4 separate regions of the Homo sapiens genome follow, and all the other regions are linked to region 2. Evidence: promoter capture Hi-C in 16 types of primary human blood cells and fetal thymus (Javierre and others, 2016). All regions are on one chromosome and are shown on one strand. The core of a region is centred on a gene start or on the middle of the fragment in contact, and the rest is flanking DNA. Distances in the headings are between cores, read along the strand shown. Region 1 has its middle 85 kb from the start of MIR4771-2. Region 2 holds the start of ACOXL (acyl-CoA oxidase like). Region 3 has its middle 130 kb from the start of MIR4771-2. Region 4 has its middle 51 kb from the start of MIR4771-2.

Region 1 (2,991 bases), core at 157-2,656, 950 kb before region 2:
GACAGTCTCCACTTCCTAGTGTGGCAGCTGGCACCTCCTGCTCCTCATGGCTGGGTGGAGAGTGTGACCAGTCCTGGCCAATTCGCTGTGAGCTGAAGTGATACTGTTAAGTGCTGATCTGAGACCCTTGAGAGTGTTCCTCTATCAATCAGTGTACCTGAGTGACCCCAGTGAGCACCAGAAGTTGGGGCTGCAGTTGAAAACCAAGGCCCTCCTAGCCCTGGGCAGTGATGACCATCTGGCAGAGAAAGCCAAACCAAGAGAATTAGGTATCCAAGGAAAATATCAGTCAGAGAGCTTCAGCACTGTGCCAAAACTATCACATGGCTGGAAAGCGGTGAGAAAGGATTTGAACCCAGGGCTGCTTCCAGAGTGCAGGCATCCTGCCTCCCAATAATGGACTTGTGGTTCCTGATGCAGACAGCTGTGGAGTAATGATGAGAGGCCCAAGGGGCCAGTGACAGAGGCTGCTTCCCAGAGTGCCCGTTTCTCTGGACACATGGTGGGTCCCAGAATTAATTGGGGCAGAAGATGTGCTGGAAAGAGGAGCTGAACACCAGCCTCAGATGACTTGGAAAGCTGTTAGAAGTTATTCAGTGAGCAGGTGGCCTCGTCATACTCTCCTTTCTCTCTCTGCCCTGCTCTGGGCACTGATTCCATGCCAGCTGCTTCACCTATGACCCTGTGAGGGCAGTGCTTATTACGCCGGGTCACAGAGAAGGTCCCTAACCAGCCCACTGGGTCAGCTCTGCACTTGCCTCACCTCAGTCACCAGCTTCAGGCCTGCAACACAGGACATGGGAATGATTTTAGGGAAATATTGCCTAAGTTAAGAGAGTCCTCTAGCTTGGCTAGATGTCTTAGTTTAGGCCACAGAAATACTACAGACTGGGTAATTTATAGGTAATAGAAGTTTATTTCTCACAGTCCTGGAGACTGAGAAGTCCAAGATCAAGGTGTCAGCAGGTTCAGTGTCTGGTGAAAGCCTATTCCTTATAGATGGCAGCATCTTGGTGTCCTTACAGGGTAGAGGGGCAAAATGGGGGCGGCAGCTCTCTGAGGCCTCTTTTAGAAGGGCATAATCCCATCCATTAGAGTGGAGCCCTCGTGGCCTAATCATCTCCCAAGGACCCCACTTCTTAATACCATTACCTTGGGGGTTAGGTTCCAACATATGAATTTTGAAGGTACGCATGCATTTAAACCATAACACTAGATATAGGATAGACCTAATCCATTACCAAGGCTTGGCCTGGGCAGGGATGAATGTGAGTTGTGTGGAGGAGGGGGTGACATGCTGTTTAATCTTCACCACGTCTTCAGTGCATTTTCCAGAGAAAAATGACTTATTTCTGGTCCTCGGGCATGTGGTTGACACCAATGCTCCTCAAACCTGAAAGTGCACAGGCATGCATGTTTATAGCGGCACAATTCATAATTGCAAAAACGTGGAACCAACCCAAGTGCCCATCGATCAATGGGTGGATAGAGAAACTGTGGTATATGTATGCAATGGAATACTACTCAGCCATAAAATGAATGAATGAATGGCATTTGCAACAACCTGGATGACGTTGGAGACTATTATTCTAAGCAAAGTAACTCAGGAATGGAAAACCAAACATCATATGTTCTCACTCATAAGTGGGAGCTAAGCTACGAGGATGCAAAGGCCCAAGAATGACACAATGGACTTTAGGGACTCGGGGAAAGAATGGGAAGGGAGTGAGGGATAAAAGACTACAAATTGGGCCGGGCACAGTGGCTCACGCCTGTAATCCCAGCACCTTGGGAGGCCGAGGCAGGCGGATCACAAGGTCAGGAGATCGAGACCATCCTGGCTAATGCGGTGAAACCCCGTCTCTTCTAAAAATACAAAAAATTAGCTGGGCATGGTGGCAGGTGCCTGTAGTCCCAGCTACTCGGGAGGCTGAGGCAGGAGAGTGGCGTGAACCCGGGAGGCGGAGCTTGCAGTGAGCTGAGATCGCACCACTGCACTCCAGCCTGGGCGACAGAGCGAGACTCCGTCTCAAAAAAAAAAAAAAGGCTACAAATTGGGTGCGGCGTATACTGCTTGGGTGATGGGTGCACTAAAATCTCAAATCACTATTGAACTTACTCATGTAACCAAACACCACCTGTTCCCCAATAACCTATAATAAAAAATTAAGAAAAAAACCCCCAAAAAACCCTTGAAAGTGCATATGAATGATCAGGAATCTTGTTGACAGGCAGATTCTGGAAGAGCAGGTCTGGGATGGGGCCTGAATTCTCTGGAGGTGCCCTGCTGTTCTGATGATAGCAATAACTGATAAGATACTTTAAGACCAGGCCCTGTGCAAACAGGTTTCAGAGTAGGCTAGATCTTATTTGGTCTCTGAAATTTTGCCAATTTGGCCACAGAATAGATTGTCAGCTCCAAAATAAGTTTCATTTTCTAGCATATTGAAATAATTAGAAGAAAGGGAACCTTTCTTGCTCTTTTGGAATAAAGAAGACAATGAGGCCTGTGAACCAAGGCTAAACCACTGTGGTAGGTGGACTTCTAAGATGGTGCCGAAGATGCTTGTCCCCCTGGCTTACACACGGCTTCTCCCACCTGTTCAGTCAAACACGAATTGAGGTGCTGCCATGAAGGGATTTTGCAGATGTAGTTAAGGTCCCAAATAAGTTGACTGTAAAGAAAAGAGACTATCCTGGGTGAGCCTGACCTAATTGGGTGAGCCTTTAGAAAGGCCCGGGCTCTTGTTGGTGCAAGAGATTTGGAATCTAAGAGGGGTGGATGCGAGGGAGATACTCAATTGCTGGGGTGTAAGAAATGGCAGGGAATATTGATGGCCGCCAACAAGGAGAGTTCAGTTTCCTTGTGGTTCTGTAGGGACTTCCACTCTACAATTCATTCATCCAACAACTTAAATGAGCTTGCAGAATCTTCCCTTGGTCCTCTAGAAAACAACACTGCTCATCTGATGCTTTGAGTTCAGTCCTATG
Region 2 (3,471 bases), core at 907-3,406:
TCTTTTAAACTGCAGTTATCTAAACTGAAAGACAAAGAGGTGATAGCCCAGGAACAAACTGAAAAGACTGAGGAATATAGGAGGGGATGTGTGTCTAATCAGATGCGACTGAACTCAGTATGACTTAAAGCAGCCGTTCACAAACATTGATTTTAGGAACTCTTTGCACTGTTAAGAATTATGAGGTCCCAGCACTTTGGGAGACCGAGGCAGGCGGATCGCTTGAGGTCAGAAGTTCAAGACCAGCCTGGCCAACACGGTGAAACCCCATCTCTACTAAAAATACAAAAAATTAGCCAGGCGTGGTGGTGGGTGCCTGTAATCTCAGCTACTCCGGAGGCTGAGACAGGAGAATCGCTTGAACCCAGGAGGTGGAGGTTGCAGTGAGCTGAGATCACACCACAGCACTCCAGCCTGGACAACAGAGTCAGACTCCGTCTCAAAAAAAAAAAATTATGAGGTCCCCAAAGAGCTTTTATTTGGGTGGGTTATATCCACTGATATTTCCCGTATTAGAAATTAAAACAGAAAAGTTTTCAAATGTTTATTAATTCATTTGAAAATAACTAATAAATCTATTAGTGTATTTTATGAAAATAACTATTTTCCAAAACAAAAAAAGTTAGCAAGAAGAGTAGCATCGTTCTATATTTTTACAAATCCCTTTACTGTCTGTCTTAATAGAAAGCAGCTGTATTCTCATGTCTGCTTCTATATTTTTTCTGCTGGAATACTACACATCATGTGGTCTCTGGAAACTGCCACTGTACATTAGTGAGAGAATGAGAGTGAAAAAGCTAATAACTTTTTTTGTATTACTATAAAAACAGTTTGTACTCATGAACCGCCTGAAATGCTCTTGGGTCCCCCCAGGGCTCCCTGTACCACACTTTGAGAACCATAACTTAAAGAACTATGTATGAGAGAGAGGGAAAGAGAAGTCGGCGAGACACTGATGGATATACCCACCATCCCACACTTCTCACTTTTCAACTTTCAAACGCCCCCAACTCCCCACTAGGTAACCTCAGTGCAGGAACCCCAGATTCTCCAAGGACAGCCTGACGTTCACTCAAGCCATCTCCTTCCCTCTCATTTCCGCAAAATAAATTAAACGAGGGCTAAGTGGGCATGGCTAACCAATTAATCCTCCACGGGCACATACTGACATTTTTAATAGGGCCTTTCTTAAGCTAGAACTCCAAAGCATGCCTCCAACTGGGCTTTTCAGACTGCTTGAAATGGGTATGAGAAAGAGAGCCCACAGGAGACACGAATGCCGAGTTCTGGTCCTGACTGTCCGGTGACTGAACCATCTCTCTATCTCCAGTGCAGCTCAAGCACTCAACCCTCTGCCTGCTTCTCAGGGCTGTCCTGGCATCGGATGACATCGAGGACCTGAGTTCTTCTTATAACCAAACCGCCCCGCTGAAGCTGCCCATTCCGCACACCTGCACTCCGAGGGGGTCCTGTAAGCCTGTCCCACCCCGACGCCCAGACACGCCCTGGACAGGGCCACTCCATCCCTGTGCGCCCATCCCATCGCGGTTTTCTGTCCCCTTCTCCCCACCAAGGGTGGGACATCGCGGGGCGGGGACTCAAGAAACAGGTTCAACAAACCAGCAAGGCCGATCTTCCAGCCACACGGTCTTCGTAGACACCGCGCCTGTCACCGCGGGGCCCAGCCCTGCACCCGACTCTTCGTGGGGGAGGGAGCTCGGGAGGAGAGGGCACCTCTCAGGGGGCCGAAGAGGTCGGCGGCGGCCGGCTGCGCCCACACACCTGGGGAGGGGAGCCCGTCACCTGCGGCGAGGCAGGGACCCGCCTCTCAGGCGCGGCGCACACCCCACCTCGCCCTCGCCAGGGCGTTGTCCGCAGCGACGCTCCGGGGACCGAGGGGACACGCTCGGCGGCTTCGGGGGCGCGGGCAGGGGCGACGGCCGCAGCGCGGTACCTTTGCCGGAAGAGCGGGCGCCGCCGAGGAGTCCGCGCAGCTCGTTCTTGAGGCTCCAGAAGTCGCCGTCCAGGTAGCGGTGCAGGGAGGAGTCCCCGAGCCCCAGACCCGGCGCCGGCTGCATCGCGCTCACCTGCCTCTGCTTCTCCGCGTGGCTGGCAGGGCCGGCTTCGCTCCGCGCCTCCTCCAGCTCCCAGCAGGTGAGGCCCCAGGCGCACGCCCTCTCCCTCTCCACCCCTCCCGGCCCGTCTCCTCCCTCCTCACCTTCCTCTCCCCTCCCTCCCCGGCCCCGCCCTGCCCTGGCTTCCCGGGCGGGAGGTCCGGCGCGAGCGGGCGCTTCTACGGTGGCCTCCCCTTGCCCTTCCGAGGAAGCGAAAACTCTACCCTCCAGTTATCAACTGTCCCTCAAGATTTGTGAGCCGTAAGAAACAAGTACTAGACCCCTAGAAAGGGTGCCAGTCACGTGGACCTGGGCACCAGAGGCCCGGCTGCTCAGGACTGACCGGCTGACCCACTCAGCAGATCTCCCGGCCAGCCACTTTGCCTGACCCCCACGACCCAAGATAGCCTGGCTCCAGCTCTGGCCCCTCCTCAGCTGTATCTCACCTCTTCCCCGCACTGGGCATTACTGTGAACTCTAATATCACGGTAATCTAAAGGCGTCCCAGGTCTACAGCACTGCAGTCCAGGGTAGCTGGAAGCTGCATTCATGACGAGGTGATCGACCGGAACACGATACTCATTTCCCAGGACACTCCTTTTTTTGTTGTGGCTGGAGGAAAATGAGTTATAACCTAAGTGGAAAATGTTCCTTCCTTTCTGCTCCCTAATTCTCATATACCTTGTTGATTCTCCTTTTAAATACTCAAGGAAATGTTAGCCGTTCCCTTCCAGAGGCTACTTTGCTGGGGAGATGATGGTGTGGTCTGCTGTCGTGAGGTTAGTGGATGCCATCTGTATTCGTTTCCAGTAACAAATTCCCACAAAGTGAGTGGCTTAAGATAGCACCAATTTATTCTCTTACATTTCTGGAAGTCAGAAGTCCAAAATAGGACTTACAGGGTTAAAATCAAGGTGTTGGCAGAGCTGGGTTCCTTCTCACAGCTCCAGGGAAAAATGCATTTCCTTGTCTTTACTAGCTCCTAGAGGCTGCCTGCATTTCTTAGCTCCTGGCCCCTTCGTCTGTCTTCAAAATGCATCACTTCAAGCTCTGCTTTCATCGTTCCATCTTCTACTGACTTTGACCTTCTTGCCTCCCTTGGACTTGTTTACATGGGACCCATGGGAATAATCCATGGTCAATGGGAATAATCTTCCCACCACAAGATCCATACTTTAATCACACCAGCAATGTCCATTTTGCCATATCAGAAACACACTCTCCGGTACTAGGGATTAAAACATGAGCACCTTTGGCGAGTCATTCCTCTGTCTACCACACCTGTGCAGCTGCGAGTAATAATACCCAGTCATCCATGATAAAAGGGGCTTTGTTTTCTCACATCACAGGAAGCTTG
Region 3 (3,244 bases), core at 53-2,552, 910 kb before region 2:
TCAAAGCCAACAATGGTGGGTTGAGCCCTTCTCATTACATCTCTGACCAACTCTTCTGCTGCTCTATCTTTTTTTTATTTTTTATTTTTATTGTAGAGGTGGGGTCTTACTATGGGGTTGCCTAGGCTGGCCTTGAACTCCTGGCCTCAAGGAATTCTTCTGCCTTGGCCTCCCTTGGCCCTGGGATTACAGGCAGGAGCCACCATGCCTGATCCCTCTTTTGTTTTTAATAGCTCAGGTGATTCAGTTGGGCCCACTAGGTAATCCAGAGTAATCACTCTGTCAGCTGATTAACAACCTTAATTCCTTCTGCAACCTTATTCCTTTTTGTCACATAACCAGTAACCTATTATTCTGGAACCCGTAATATCTTTATACTCAGGTTCTAGGAATTATTAGGCAGATATCTTTGTAGGGCAGCTATTCTTCCTACCATACCATCACAATCATCATCCTCATTCAGAATGCATTGGCCTTGGGGTTGAGAGCTCCCTCATCTCGAGGAAAGACTTGCCCCAAAGGCGAAGAGGAAGAGAGGGGAGAGGCTGACTGAAGTTCTCTTCCTTCAGCACTAGCCGAGAGGGAGTTTCTGGATGTTTAGGTGGTGAGATGTGGAGAGATGTGGATCCTCGAGGTGGCTGAAATTATGCTAATCTGTGCCCTCAGACTGACTGGCTCTGACAGCATGGCCCTGCATCTCAGCTCTGAGCCAGCCTGTGGAAGGAAGGGAGAATGGATGCCTCAGCTGGCATCTGTGTGAAAGTGGCTCAGTGGCAACACACATGTGTCCATGTACACACACACACACACACACACACACACACACCCCTGCGGGCTTGACTAGAAAACATGGCATCTGAAAGAGTTCAAAGAACTTAGATTGAGTACAGAAGATTGACAACTTTTAAAAAATCTACAAATCATGCTTCTTTCAGTGTGATACCAATATTGCACCCCTACTATGTGTCAGGCCCAGGGTCAGGTGCTGTATGTGCATTAGCTCTCTTAGGATTACCCAAAGCTCTGCGAGGATTTTCCCTTTTACCAATGACAGAACTAAGGTGCAGAAAGGTGGAGGGCGAAGGCTGCTGCTCAAGGCCCTCAACTGGTAAGTGGTAGAGCCAGGCAGAGCCTTCAGTGAACACAAGGAATAGACGGCCTTACGACAACACAGAGGACTTAGGTTAGACATGAGACTAACTTGGGAAAAACAAAGCTTACTGCAAGGCTTTGCAATGAATTACTAGAAGGCTGTGGAATCTTCTGAATGCCATGGGAAATAGGATGGTTTCTTAATAGCCAGAAGGTGGAAGCAACACAAGTGTCCATAGATGGATAAATGGATAAACAATGTGGTATGTCCATAAAATGGAAAACAATTAAGCTTTAAAAAGAAAAGACACTTTGACATATGCAACAGCATGGATGAACCTTGAGGATATTATGCTGAGTGAGATAAGCCAGTCACAAAAAGACAGATACTATATGCTTCCACTTATTTGTGGTATCTAGAGTTGTCAAATTCATAGAGACAGAAAGTAGAATGGTGGTTGCCAGGGGCAGGCAGGGAGAGGGGAGTAGGGAGCCAATGTTTAATGGGTATGGAGTTTCAAATGGGATGATGAAACCCATCATAGATGGTGGTGATTGTTACACAATAATGTGAATGTACTTCATGCCACTGAACAGTACACTTAAAAATAGCTCAGATGGTGAACTACTGGGTTACATGTATTTTATCACAATTAAAACAATAGGATGGTTAAATGTGGTAATTCATGAAGGTGAGTGCTCGTCTCTAAGGCAGGCTGTCATGCCCTCGGGTGCCACGTGACTTGCTGTGAATACCAATATAACTATCATGTCATCCCCCGTCCTGGTCCATATCCCCTGATGTTCTCTTGATTGTTAGCTGGTAATTCTGCCCCTTAGCTTAGCTTTTAATGCATCACATGGTTGAGAGCTCTCCACCAGGGCTCTGCTGGCTTGGGCCCCCAGGGGTGGTGTTTTTGTGGGTAAGCCTGGGTTTGTAGTTTCTAAGACATTGACTAGGTTTTATGTTGCATGCCTGGGAAGAAGACCTGGGTGCTTTTTGCCAGAAAAAAGCCTTGTGCCTGATTGACATGTGGGTGAGTTTTGAAGAGTATACCTAAGATTGGCTTCGGAATGTGTGATCCAAAAAGGAAAACAATGTGTGATCTTGTTTTTGGTGCAGATGGAAACATAAAAGAATTTGTGCTTCTCTCAAAGTTCCAGAAATTTTGAGGCACAACTTCTGGTAAATCATAGAGGACCTTTAAGTCAAGATTCAGATTTTGGTGGTAGATATCTTTGGATAATGCCTCCTTTTAACCCACTGAAGTTCTTTTCCTTCATCACTGTTTTGCAATTCTCCTAAAAGAGTTCAAGTCCAAGACTTTGTGATTGCCTCTTCCTTCTTTCTTCCCCACAGCCAGTTGGAGGTGGTAGCCCTTAGTGCAGGGACTAGCAAGGTTGGGTATCCTCTTAGCTACTTTGTGCGGGTTTCTCTTTGTGTAAATTGCCTATCCACATCCTCCTATTTTAAAAAGAGGATTATTACTGTTTTCTTATGAAATTGCCTATAAATTTTGGACACTAATTCTTTATTGACAATGTGTGTTGCAAATTTTTTTGTTCCAATCTGTTGTTTTCAAACTCTATTTTTGTTGTTGTACATAATTGAGATATGTATGTAGTCCTTTTCTTTATAGCTGTTGCATTGCATTTCTACTCTACTCTAGATTTACCAAAATGTGATCTTACAGTTTTTTTGTAATGCTTCTATAGTGTGTATTTTATGTTTGTTCTTTAATTCACTTAAAATTCATTTTTGTGTGTATGGTGTGAGGTAGGAATCTAAACTTTGTTTTGTCCCACATAGATACTGGATTGAATCCCCAAATTTTATTTTTATTTCTTAACTTTAGAGACAAGGTGTTACTGTGTCACCAGGCTGAGGTTTAGTGGCATGATCATAGCTCACTGCAGCCTCGAACTACTGGGCTCAAGCTATCCTCCTGCCTCGGCCTCCCAAGTAGTTAGGACTACAGGTTTGCATCACCATGCCTGGCTTCTTCTTAGTTTTTTTTTTTTTTTTTTTGGTAGAGATGGGATCTTGCTATGTTGTCCAGGCTGGTCTCAAACCCCTGTGCTCAAGCAATCCTACTGCCTCAGCCTCCCAAAGTGCTGGGATTACTGGCATGAGCCACTGTGCCCTACCAAA
Region 4 (3,074 bases), core at 99-2,598, 990 kb before region 2:
ACTCTGAGTTCACAGACCCACTCTGATCCTTGAATGGGTCTGTCCTGAAATAATGGGGAATCCTGGAACATGCTGCTTTGTGTAGACGCCTTTCTCCTTTGCAACTTTTAAAGGTATTTGTCCCCTGGGTTTCATTTGAAATGCTTTTTTTTTCCTTCTTCTTTTTTTTTTTTGCCAGATGCTTTCACTAGGAGCAGTATCCAGAAAGCTATGTTTCTAACCTACCTTGTTGTTTGCCTCTTGGGCAAATGGGTTTGTTTACCTTATTGACTCAGTTCAGTGGAAAATATTACCCTGATTGGGATGGAGATGGGGCTGCTGTTCTGAAATAACTACGCAAGTTTACCTGTTCAGGTGGGACACAGCTTCTTGTGTTAGTCACGGATGAATTTTGAAAATTTATACATAGTGCAATAAATGCTGGTTTCTTTCCCCTTCCTCACTCCTTCCTGGGGCCTATATGTGTGTATCTCTAACACACATACACACACACGCAGGCACACACACACTCATACACATGCACACTCACACACAAGAGGATACGTTGCATATACAGCTCAATGCTACAAAGAAGCCCTTTTACCAGAAGAGCACACGGGAACTCCGCTGAAGTTTGACAGGGTGATTGTCTTGTGGCTACTCTACCTTGAGGCCAGAGCACAGTGAGGGCCTCCCTCCTGCCCCCAGCCACACCAAAGAGGGGGCAGGGGGTCACAGGGAGCAAAAGAGGAGCTTTTTGCCATCACCATGAGACGGTGACCACAGGAGCCTGGCTCGAAGGTGAGGGTGGGGCTGGTGACTGGTGCCTGTGGATTCCAGAGTGGTTGGCCTACACAGCCTACTGAGAGGTAGAGCATGGTCCTTTGCGTCCCTGTGGACTCCGAGTGCCTGCCATGGTTTGGAAGGTCCACTGAAGGCTGAGTGCTCAGCGGCGTTGCCAGCCAGCTGGATGCATGTAAACAGCATTGTGAATGGAGAACATTCTTTCACCTTATTCTTGCACATTCTTCTCCCATACTTAGCTTCTTATCCTTCCTATCTACTCATCTAGCTAGCAATCCCTAAAATTAAATCATTTATAAATGAGTCCGATGAGGGTCTTTTTTTGAAAACTGGATTTAGTGAATAAGGCAGACCCCTGTTTTTGGATAGGGCTTTGCCTCTTGTTATTAAGGAGGAATAACTTGTTCCCAACTTGGTTGGTGACCCCAGCTGAGGAGGAACAAGTGGCAGATGAGTCCCAGGGAAGACCCCTAGGGGGAATGGCTGGAGGTAGCTGTACCAGGGATGAAAAGGGTGGGGGTGGTGATGAGGGGAACGCAGCCCTTCATGCAAAGAAGTGGGTGTTTGAAATCAGTGGGTGACTATTTTTTTGGCAATGTGGGCTCCTTAGGTCATATACAGTGGCCTTAGAAAGCCAGCCCTGCCTCTCTTCCCTCAACTGATGGTGGATTTGTGTAATGAGATCACCGTCTTCTTGAAAAACACTTCCAGGGTAGCTCATTACAAAGCCTCGCACAGTGTTCGGAGCAGGGCGAGCTGCAAGGCCCCGGGCTTTCCATTCTGAAAGAGCTGTGGGTGTCGGGGTGGCTGCCAGCTGTGAGAGCTCTGTGGGTGGGGACTCTGTCCCTCAAAGCCACGCACTCAGGCTTGCCCATTCTAGTGTCTCCGTGGGAGACACAAAGCTGAGGTTTCTCTAGGAATGGGGAGCTCCAGCTGGAAGGATATGGAATTTGAATGCAGCATCTGCCTTTAGCTCAGCCCCGAAGAGAGTCAGACAGAATCTGGTGAGAAGGAGGCCACTGAGTGATCTGATGTCCCCTCATCTGGCCTGGACCTTTTTTTAAGTGAAACTCAGCCCAGCCCTCAGGTGCGTCCCCCGGCATCCCAATCACCTGCGAACTGTGATTCCCTCTCAGGGCTTCGGTAAGTGATTCAGTGGAGGCAGCCAGCAATTAAAAGAAGCAATTAAAGATCTTTTATTAAAAGATCTTTATGACAGGCTGGGCAAGGTGGCCTGGGCCTGTAATCCCAGAGCTTTGGGAGGCTGAGGAGGGAGGATCACTTGAGCTCAGGAATTTGAGACCAGCCTGAGCAACATAGTGAGCCCCTCCCTGTCTTTACAAAAAATGAAAAAAATTAGCCAGACATGGCTAAAAAACAATCTTTACGACAAATTGTTAAATAAAGAATGTAAGTGATGGAATGATATATGTAGCAGATTTTTATCTGTATGTATGCAAATATATAAAGTTCTGTAAGATTGCACACTAAACCATTGGCACAGATGGAGAGTAAAGAACTTTAATTTTTTACTCTATAGGCTTTCCCCCCCACAACATTTCAGATATTCTTTTTTTATTTTTTGAGACAGGGGCTTGCTCTGCTGCCCAAGCTGGACTGCAGTGGCACCAACATAACTCACTGCAGCCTTCACCTCCCAGGCTCAAGCAATCCTCCCACCTCAGCCTCCCAAGTAGCTGGGACTACAGTGCAGTGGTCACCATATCTGGCTAATATTTTATTGTTTGTAGAGACAGGGTCTCACTATTTGTCCAGGCTGGTCTCAAACTCCTGGCCTCAAGCGATCCTCCTGCCTCAGTCTCCCAAAGTGCTGGGATTACAGGCATGTGCCACTATGCCCAGCCAGCAGATACCCTTGAAAACGTGATGTATCATATAATACAAGCAATGTGCACTCTCCTTGCTATTTGAAATGCCTCTGAAAATGAAAACCTAATTCTTCACTAAAAAATTGTGTTGCGGCGGGGCGCGGTGGCTCACGCCTGTAATCCCAGCACTTTGGGAGGCCAAGGTGGGCGGATCACGAGGTCAGGAAATCGAGACCATCCTGGCTAACACGGTGAAACCCTGTCTCTACTAAAAATACAAAAAGTTAGCCGGGTGTGGTGACACACACCTGTAATCCCAGCTACTTGGGAGGCTGAGGCAGAAGAATCGCTTGAACCCGGGAGGCAGAGCTTCCAGTGAACTGAGATCATGCCACTGCACTCCAGCCCAGGAGACAGTGCGAGACTCCATCTCAAACAAACAAACAAACAAAACCCAAAAAA

The links. Contacts are between HindIII fragments. The CHiCAGO score rates a contact against its expected background, and 5 or more counts as called.
Region 1: a contact is called between a fragment that was not itself captured here and the fragment with the promoter of ACOXL in region 2, in 4 of 17 cell types (neutrophils, naive B cells, erythroblasts and 1 more). The highest score is 8.5, in neutrophils.
Region 3: a fragment that was not itself captured here is called in contact with the fragment with the promoter of ACOXL in region 2 in 7 of 17 cell types (total B cells, total CD8 T cells, naive B cells and 4 more); the score reaches 9.9 in total B cells.
Region 4: a fragment that was not itself captured here is called in contact with the fragment with the promoter of ACOXL in region 2 in 4 of 17 cell types (neutrophils, erythroblasts, total B cells and 1 more); the score reaches 8.5 in neutrophils.

Annotation. Positions count from the first base shown.
Region 1 is chr2:111,684,880-111,687,870 of GRCh38, reverse strand. No RefSeq gene overlaps it. Among named protein-coding and RNA genes, the nearest start is that of MIR4771-2, 85 kb to the left of the region's middle. The HindIII fragment of the contact is 5,700 bases long and covers 1-2,991 here.
Region 2 is chr2:110,731,258-110,734,728 of GRCh38, reverse strand. It overlaps ACOXL (acyl-CoA oxidase like), which reads right to left and starts at 2,156. Exons shown (of 18, transcript NM_001142807.4): 1 at 1,955-2,156. LOC124906064 (a long non-coding RNA gene) reads left to right here and starts at 2,304. Exons shown (of 3, transcript XR_007087181.1): 1 at 2,304-2,375; 2 at 2,825-2,893; 3 at 3,094-3,368. The HindIII fragment of the contact is 3,688 bases long and covers 1-3,469 here.
Region 3 is chr2:111,637,065-111,640,308 of GRCh38, reverse strand. No RefSeq gene overlaps it. Among named protein-coding and RNA genes, the nearest start is that of MIR4771-2, 130 kb to the left of the region's middle. The HindIII fragment of the contact is 168 bases long and covers 1,219-1,386 here.
Region 4 is chr2:111,718,323-111,721,396 of GRCh38, reverse strand. No RefSeq gene overlaps it. Among named protein-coding and RNA genes, the nearest start is that of MIR4771-2, 51 kb to the left of the region's middle. RefSeq lists an enhancer at 291-1,185. The HindIII fragment of the contact is 3,818 bases long and covers 1-3,074 here.